Linked DNA regions of Homo sapiens: regions 1 and 3 are each linked to region 2. Evidence: promoter capture Hi-C in 16 types of primary human blood cells and fetal thymus (Javierre and others, 2016). All regions are on one chromosome and are shown on one strand. The core of a region is centred on a gene start or on the middle of the fragment in contact, and the rest is flanking DNA. Distances in the headings are between cores, read along the strand shown. Region 1 holds the start of GRIN1 (glutamate ionotropic receptor NMDA type subunit 1). Region 2 holds the start of TMEM141 (transmembrane protein 141). Region 3 overlaps MAN1B1 (mannosidase alpha class 1B member 1).

Evidence for each region. The method cuts DNA at HindIII sites, captures the fragments that hold promoters and counts their contacts. A CHiCAGO score of 5 or more calls a contact.
Region 1: the fragment with the promoter of GRIN1 here is called in contact with the fragment with the promoter of TMEM141 in region 2 in 1 of 17 cell types (erythroblasts); the score reaches 6.0 in erythroblasts.
Region 3: a fragment that was not itself captured here is called in contact with the fragment with the promoter of TMEM141 in region 2 in 5 of 17 cell types (naive CD8 T cells, total CD8 T cells, non-activated CD4 T cells and 2 more); the score reaches 10.3 in naive CD8 T cells.

The regions. Positions count from the first base shown.
Region 1 is chr9:137,137,641-137,140,494 of GRCh38, forward strand. GRIN1 (glutamate ionotropic receptor NMDA type subunit 1) reads left to right here and starts at 1,514. Exons shown (of 20, transcript NM_007327.4): 1 at 1,514-2,104. The coding sequence starts at 1,847. RefSeq lists a silencer at 1,057-1,351. The HindIII fragment of the contact is 14,343 bases long and covers 1-2,854 here.
Region 2 is chr9:136,790,018-136,793,079 of GRCh38, forward strand. It overlaps TMEM141 (transmembrane protein 141), which reads left to right and starts at 1,327. Exons shown (of 5, transcript NM_032928.4): 1 at 1,327-1,407; 2 at 1,694-1,760; 3 at 1,930-2,013; 4 at 2,234-2,341; 5 at 2,802-3,062. The coding sequence starts at 1,354. The coding sequence ends at 2,815. RefSeq lists a silencer at 714-1,753. The HindIII fragment of the contact is 4,968 bases long and covers 1-3,062 here.
Region 3 is chr9:137,098,759-137,101,458 of GRCh38, forward strand. MAN1B1 (mannosidase alpha class 1B member 1) reads left to right here. Exons shown (of 13, transcript NM_016219.5): 6 at 938-1,123; 7 at 2,247-2,395. Among named protein-coding and RNA genes, the nearest start is that of MAN1B1, 13 kb to the left of the region's middle. The HindIII fragment of the contact is 8,732 bases long and covers 1-2,700 here.

The DNA of each region.
Region 1 (2,854 bases), core at 264-2,763, 350 kb after region 2:
GTAGCTGGGATTACAAATGCCTGCCGCCACGCCCGGCTAATTTTTGTATTTTTAGTAGAGACAGGGTTTCACCATGTTGGCCAGGCTGGTCTCGAACTCCTGACCTTAGGTGATCCACCTGCCCTTGCCTCCCAAAGTATTGAGATTACAGGCATGAGCCACTGTGCCCTGCCGAGGTGGAAGTTTGGAGATGGGCCACAAACTCCTGGAGATAGGGCCAGCTCAGTCCCCCTGAGCACCCACACACACCCTCCTGAGAGCCAACAGAAGGAGTGAGGGCCCCGAGGCGGATGACCCGTGTGCCTCAACCCGAACGGGGAGAGGCGGGGTCTGCAGCAGGGTACGGGCAGGTGATCCCCCAAGGAAAGATTTTCCTGTATTGAGAGAGAAGGGGCCAAGAGGAGGAGCTTGTCAAACACCACAGCCCCTCCCCCTCCTCTCAGCTCCAGGGGGTCCCTGGTGCCAGTGTTCGGCTGATGGAGAGAACGGCAAGCGGGAGAGAGAGTGTGACCCCTGTGGGCACATGACTTCCCTTGCTGCACTGCTGCACATAGCAGAGGTGTGGTGACGACCCTGTTTTGTCCCATTGGGGGCGTTTGCTGTTAGGTCTGCAGAATCCTCAGTTGCTATTGGAAATGGTGACATCACTGGCAGGGGCGGAGCTTCAGCCATCCTTCAAGTTAGGGAGGGGCACGCACACTCCAGGGGTGGAGGGGGACAAAGACAGGGTGGTGTGGACCAGAGGGATGGGTAAGGCTCTGGAAAAGGGGGCGCTGGGAGCGCATTGCGAGGGGGCTGGAGAGGGAGAGAGGAGCGGAAGCTGAGGGTGTGAAACGGCTGGCCCCGAACACACCTCGCGGCGCTCCAGTGATTCCTGGTGTCCGACCTCAGCCCCAGTCAGTGCGGGTCCAGTTTCCAGGCTCTCGCGGAAGGCCTGGCTGAGCACATGCGGCAGCCACGGTCACCCTCCCTATTCCTCTTAGCCCGAGGAGGGGGGTCCCAAGTTACATGGCCACGCAGATGGGGCCTCTCCCTCATTTCTGAACCTTGTGGGGAGGGGAACCTTGAAGGGAGCGCCCCCCAGAGCCATGGCTTAGGGCCTCCCCCACCCCTCTGGAGCTCCAGTCTGCAAGAGTCAGGAGCCGAAATATCGCTGACTGTGGGTGACGACTCTTGCGCGCACACACACATACAAGCGGGCACGACGCGTTCGGTCCTATTAAAAGGCACGCAAGGGTGCGGGCTGCACGCGGTGACACGGACCCCTCTAACGTTTCCAAACTGAGCTCCCTGCAGGTCCCCGACAGCACAGGCCCCTGTCCCAGGACCCCTCCAGGCACGCGCTCACACGCACACGCGCGCTCCCCGGCTCACGCGCGCTCCGACACACACGCTCACGCGAACGCAGGCGCACGCTCTGGCGCGGGAGGCGCCCCCTTCGCCTCCGTGTTGGGAAGCGGGGGCGGCGGGAGGGGCAGGAGACGTTGGCCCCGCTCGCGTTTCTGCAGCTGCTGCAGTCGCCGCAGCGTCCGGACCGGAACCAGCGCCGTCCGCGGAGCCGCCGCCGCCGCCGCCGGGCCCTTTCCAAGCCGGGCGCTCGGAGCTGTGCCCGGCCCCGCTTCAGCACCGCGGACAGCGCCGGCCGCGTGGGGCTGAGCCCCGAGCCCCCGCGCACGCTTCAGCGCCCCTTCCCTCGGCCGACGTCCCGGGACCGCCGCTCCGGGGGAGACGTGGCGTCCGCAGCCCGCGGGGCCGGGCGAGCGCAGGACGGCCCGGAAGCCCCGCGGGGGATGCGCCGAGGGCCCCGCGTTCGCGCCGCGCAGAGCCAGGCCCGCGGCCCGAGCCCATGAGCACCATGCGCCTGCTGACGCTCGCCCTGCTGTTCTCCTGCTCCGTCGCCCGTGCCGCGTGCGACCCCAAGATCGTCAACATTGGCGCGGTGCTGAGCACGCGGAAGCACGAGCAGATGTTCCGCGAGGCCGTGAACCAGGCCAACAAGCGGCACGGCTCCTGGAAGATTCAGCTCAATGCCACCTCCGTCACGCACAAGCCCAACGCCATCCAGATGGCTCTGTCGGTGTGCGAGGACCTCATCTCCAGCCAGGTGCCCTCCCCCACCTCCGCCACCCACCTCCCCTCTCCTCCATCCTGCAACCCCACACCCCCAGTTTCATTCCATCCTTTCCGTGCCCCCTTCCTCCCTGTAAGACACCACCCCAGAGTCAGCTGGCTGCTTCCGGGAGGCCTCGTCTCACTAGGAACCAAACACCAGGGTCTGCTGGCTCCCCTATCTTGGCCTGAGACCAGTCACCTGCCACCTTGGCTGGTCCTCAGAGGGCCCCTGGGGCTCCAGGCCCTGACTGGTGTGTGTAGACGTGGGGCTGGAGTGTGTCAGTGTGGGGGTGGGCATTCCGGGTAAGAGAGTAGAAGCGCCTGTCCAGCTACATGCCCGCCCTGCAGAGCTTTAAACAGGACGGGGCCTGGGGCCATCTTTGTTTCTGCTTCCAGGTTCTCCTGCCCTTTCTTTCGTCCCTTCCCCCTACCGATGGGTCCGCCTGGGAAGAGAAATGGCTCAGGTGCCACGGCAGGACGCTTTGTGGGGGTGGGAGTGGGGGTGCACACGCGAGAGGCATCAGGGCATGGGAGCTGTCGGCAGCCAGCGCTGCGGGGGAGGACGTGGCTCCTGGGATTTTGCCTGTCGGAGCTGTCCGCCCCTGGGCCGAGCGCCTGCTGAATTCCAATGAGGCTGCAAGGATCTGCAATGCAGCCCTTTATGTAAGAGGCAAGACAGACATCCAGCCTAGCACCGCTCACACGTGCCTACCTGATGGACACACCACATCTGTGGACACAC
Region 2 (3,062 bases), core at 77-2,576:
GATTATAGGCACCTGCCACCACGCCCGGCTAATTTTTGTATTTTTAGTAGAGACGGGGTTTCACCATCTTGGCCAGGCTAGTATTTAACTCCTGACCTTGTGATCCACCTGCCTCGGCCTCCCAAGGTGCTGGGATTACAGGCGTAAGCCACCGCACCTGGCCAAGATTTCATCTTTTTACCTCATATTTCTTAGGAATTTAATGGTTATATGTTGTCTTTTTTCCCATGCCTTTTGGCTCAAGCAACACGTATATCAGTGTTGACTTTTTCTTTCTTTGATCTAGTTTAAAAAAAAAAACCACATAATAATTCTTTGAAGAAAGGAAGGGGTTAATTTTTTTCCCTAGCACTTTCTTGAAGATCAGGGACTTTATCGATGAAAAAGTAGTAAATAGTTATTTGTAACCTGTGTGAAGCAGCAGCCTGACTTGAAGTCCTCCGTTCTTGCTAATGGTTACACCAGTGAATACTAGTGGAATTGTTTGGGCTGATTTTAGTTTCTCTTAATCAAAATTACTAGATGATAGAATTCAAGAACTTGTACATGTTATTACTTGGTGTATCGATAATTATTTGAAAGTAAAGACTCTTTGTCATGCAAAACAAAAGGAGTTTGAGGCTCAGCTACTAAGCTGCTGGTTACAGAACCACTTTGCTAAACAGTGATTTTATACATCCCCACTCCGTGGTGGCTTATGAGAAATTCAATCCCTGATTGTAGTCCTCAAGCAAAATAACACTGACAATCATCAGGCCTCTGCAAGTGTGGGAATGAGGCCCGGCCGGGGGGAGGAGCGCACGCTCTCAGCCACGCCCCGCCCGGTGCCCGCCTTCGCCCCGCCCAGTCGTCGCCGGAGGTCACAGGGCCCAAGCTCCTAGAGGCGTGGCCAGGCCCCAGGCCCCACCCCTCTCCCCTGCGCTCTAGCAGGCTCGATCCATGCTCCGCCCCCAATCCAAGGCCCTGGCCCCTCCGCCTGCACCCGGCAGGACCCGCCTCTTAGAACCCGACACCTCCGCCTGCGCAGGCCCGCTCCCCGGTCCTGTCTCTCAGGCCCCGCCCCCAGGTCGCGTCTCCAAAGTCCCGTCTCTCAGGCCCCGCCCCCAGATCACGTCTCCCAGGTCCCGCCCCCTCCGCCTGCTGCCGCGCGGACCCGCCCTCAGGCGCCGTCTCCTAGGCCCCGCCCCCTCCGCCTGTTCCAGCGCGGGCCGGTCCCTAGGCCTCGCCCCCAGATCCGGGCCCTGCCCCTCCGTCCGTAACTGCGCAGGCCTGTCCTCTGGGCCACACCCCCAGGTTCCCGTCCCGCCCTTCCGCCTGCGCCTGCGCAGGCCCGCTCCCCGAGCCCTGCCAACCATGGTGAACTTGGGTCTGTCCCGGGTGGACGACGCCGTGGCTGCCAAGCACCCGGTGAGAAGGCCGGTCTGGGACGCGGGCCTCAAACCCCAGAAGCTGACCTGAGCGAGGCGGGGGGCCGGGGCGTGGGGGTGCCCTCGTCAGGGAAGAGTGGCGGAGGCTGGGGGCACTCTCTTGCTAAGGGGCTCAGGGCGTCCGGGTGGGCATAGGGGAGGTGGGACGTGTCCAAGCGCCCAGGGTCTCACTCCTCCACAGCCAGGGTGTGCCCAGAGGAGGGACAGGAGAGGCGGTGAAGGAAGAGGGCAGGGGATCGAGCCTTCACCCGCCTCTGCCACCCCAGGGACTCGGGGAGTATGCCGCATGCCAGTCACACGCCTTCATGAAGGGCGTTTTCACCTTCGTCACAGGTAGGCTGCGTCCAGGTGTCCTGCGGCTGGGAGAGAACGCACCCTCCCGCCCTGCCCTGACTCCCCAGCAGGGGGCGCCAAGTCACCTGCCCGCAGGTGCTGGGGGCCTGGCAAGGTGGGCCCTGGCTATCCCCGGGTACAGGTTGATGGGGACCTCGGCTCTTTGCAGGCACCGGCATGGCCTTTGGCTTGCAGATGTTCATTCAGAGGAAGTTTCCATACCCTTTGCAGTGGAGCCTCCTAGTGGCCGTGGGTGGGTACTCCAGGGCCCCTGCCTGGGCTCTTTGAGGGGTGGGTTTCTGCTAGGGTTGGGGCTGTGGTTCTGCGTCCCTGACTCTGACATGGAGCCCCAGGTCTCGGCGGGAGCCCCACCTGAGCCCACCCACCACGTCTGTCAGGAAGTAGCCTGTGCCCGGTTCTCTTAGCCTGGGAAGCACAGAGGCCCCAGCCCTCTTCCATTTCCTGCTCCACAGTTGCAGGCTCTGTGGTCAGCTACGGGGTGACGAGAGTGGAGTCGGAGAAATGCAACAACCTCTGGCTCTTCCTGGAGACCGGGCAGCTCCCCAAAGACAGGAGCACAGGTGAGAGAGCCTGGGGGTTAGCGAGAAGTGAATGCCACCTCTCCAGCACCCAGAGTTTTGGGCAGCCAAGCCTGGGTGCACCATGCGATAGGCTAGACAAGGTCCCTCCCTCTGGCCCGGCCTCCTCAGCATGTGACTGCCAGATGGGTTGGAGCTGGGGGTGGGCGCAGTAGACAGATCTTGGAGAGCTCCCTTTGAGGAGAAAGAACCAAGAGGGGCTGGGGTGCCCCTGAGATTGAGAGGAAGGGTGCAGAGTGAAGGGTGTGGCAAGGCCACAGCAGCCACGTGGGCACCCGAGAGGAGTGAGGCTGGACTGAGAAGCCCCGCATTGGACCCAGGCCTGGCCTCCACTGCCCGTTGTCCTTGTTACGGAACCCAGTTTCTGCCATGATAAAATGGGCACAGGGATGCCCAGCCACGATGGATGTGGTTCGAGCTTGTCTCTCTTTGCCTTTTACAGATCAGAGAAGCTAGGAGAGCTCCAGCAGGGGCACAGAGGATTGGGGGCAGGAGGAGTCTGGAACACAGCCTTCATGCCCCCTGACCCCAGGCCGACCCTCCCCACACCCTAGGGTACCCCAGTCGTATCCTCTGTCCGCATGTGTGGCCAGGCCTGACAAACACCTGCAGATGGCTGCTGCCCCAACCTGGGACCTGCCCAGGAGGTTGGAGCAGAAAGGGCTCTCCCTGGGGTGGTGTTTCTCCTCTAGGGTATTGGGAT
Region 3 (2,700 bases), core at 201-2,700, 310 kb after region 2:
ACTTTGGGAGGCTGAGGTAGAAGGATCTCTTGAGTCCAGGAGTTCAAGACCAGCCTGGACAACACAGTGAGGCCCCATCTCTACAAAAAAAAAAGAAATTTATATATATGTGTATATTTGAGACAGAGTCTTGCTTTGTCACTTCACTGCAACGTCTGCCTTCTGGGTTCAAGCAAGTCTCCTGCCTCAGCCTCCCTAGTAGCTGGGATTATAGGCACCCGCCACCACACCTGGCTAATTTTTGTATTTTTAGTAGAGACGGGGTTTCGCGATGTTGGCGAGGCTGGTCTCAAACTTCTGACCTCAGGTGATCTGCCCACCTCGGCCTCCCAGAGTACTGGGATTACAGGCGGGAGCCACCGTGCCCAGCCAAAAAAATTTAAAAAAAGGGAACGAAGGGACTGTAGCGCGTGTGCACAGTGCGATTCCCGTGGAGCACCTGAAGCCCACGTGGCAGAAGGAGCGTGTTTGAGTCGAGGATGTTCATCGCGAGGTCTGCACCCGTCCGTGTTTCACATTCTGAGTTGGCACCACACTCACCCACGTCTCCACAGGCTGTGCTCACTGTGCTGTCCCAGCGCCCTTGGGGCAGCCACCCTTGTCCCTTTGGCCAGAGGCCACCGAGGCCCAAGGAGGGTGTGCCTGCCCAGGCGCCAGGTGGAGGTGCATGGGCCCCAGTCAGGTGGTCGGGTGACAGGTGCCATCCTGTGCAGTCTCCAGAGGTCTCAGGCCCTTGGCAGGCTGTGTTCTCCCTGGGGGCTGCTGCAGCCTCTGTGGCCCTGGCCTTTGCTGTGCCCACCACCGCCCTTCCCGTCGTCCCAAACCCACCGTCATCTTTGCCCCATGGGGGTCACAGCAGTGCTCTGCCTGAGGGTGTCCATCTGTGCCGACGCCAGGACCACGTCCGCCATGGCCTGTGCTCTCTCCCCCCTACTAGTGCATCTGAACTATCGCCAGAAGGGCGTGATTGACGTCTTCCTGCATGCATGGAAAGGATACCGCAAGTTTGCATGGGGCCATGACGAGCTGAAGCCTGTGTCCAGGTCCTTCAGTGAGTGGTTTGGCCTCGGTCTCACACTGATCGACGCGCTGGACACCATGTGGATCTTGGGTCTGAGGAAAGGTACCTGGTGCTTTCTGGGGAGGGGCTGAGCCCTCCGTGTGGGCCTCGTGTGCTGAGGCAGAGTGTGGGTTGCACACGGGGTGAAAGCTGCTGTTTGCATCTGACCATGGGTTTTCCCTTCTCCTGGGTGCGGGAGTGGACGTGTTGGCTGTGGTCAGTTCCTGTTCTTGTCCAGCCACCCAAGGCACACACAGGGCCGCTGTCCCCAGACCTCTGCAGGAGTTGAGTGTGGACTCTTTGGGGGACGTCCAAGGGACATTCCCAGGCTGTGCTTCTCTTGCAGCTGGGGGTGGTGGGATGAGTGACTGTGGGGCCCCGCTGGTCCCAGATCTCAGCAGCATCCTTCATAGACCAGCACATCCACTTTGAATTGGGAGTATGTGTCTTCGGTTATTTAAGCGATAATTTAAACATTTGCCTAATTTTTTGAATAGGTTGAAGACCACCAGTAAACGACGTGTGTAATTTTTTTGGGTCGTAGCCTTTGGTTGTGACCCATTGGTGGCCATAGCAACTGCACTGCTGACTCCGTTTTATTAACAAATGTTGACGACTTCAAGATTTACCCCCTTGAGATAGGAGGTGATATTGAAGCCCTGCAGGGGAACGATAACGCCCCAGACATGGGTTTGGTTTTTTGTTTTTGTTTTTTTGTTTTTGAGATGGAGTCTTTCACTGTCTCCTGGGCTGGAGTGCAATGGCGCAATCTCGGCTCATTGCAACCTTGGCCTCCTGGTTTCAAACGTGGGTTTTTTGGAGACAGAGTCTAGTGGTGTGGCCCAGGCTGGAGTGCAGTGGCACGATCTCAGTTCACTGCAGCCTTCGCCTCCCGGGTTCAAGCTATTCTCATGCCTCACCCTCCCCAGTAGTTGGGACCACAGGCATGCGCCACCATACTCAGCTAATTTTTGTGTTTTTAGTAGAGATGGGGTTTTCCCATGTTGTCCAGGCTGGTCTCTAACTCCTGGGCTCAAGCAATCCACTTGCCTCAGCCTCCCAAAGTGCTGGGATTACAGGCATGAGCCACCACGCCCAGCCAAATGTATTTTGAAGATGGATAGATAATAGGAAAACGTTGGAGCCATCCATTTGTCTCTGCATCCTTTACTGTTTTATGTCATAGAATTTGAGGAAGCCAGGAAGTGGGTGTCGAAGAAGTTACACTTTGAAAAGGACGTGGACGTCAACCTGTTTGAGAGCACGATCCGCATCCTGGGGGGGCTCCTGAGTGCCTACCACCTGTCTGGGGACAGCCTCTTCCTGAGGAAAGCTGTAAGTGTCTTGGGGTGTCCTGCAGGGAGATGGTGGACTCGCATTCAAGCAGTTACCCCTTTAGTGGACTTGTGGGGACGTGACTGTCTTCCTGTTTCCTCTTCAAATGCACTGGAGTCTGTTTCTGAGCTCATATTCGTGAGCTGATGAAGCCACTTTGATCACCACTGGCCTTGTAGAGACATTCACTCAGTGCAGAGTGATGCCCGTTTCCTTGCTGCTGTGTTGACCCCAGAGAGCCTTCAGTGTCTCCACTGAACTGCATGAAAGGGTGTAGACGAGGCCTCTGGGTGACCTGAACGTTG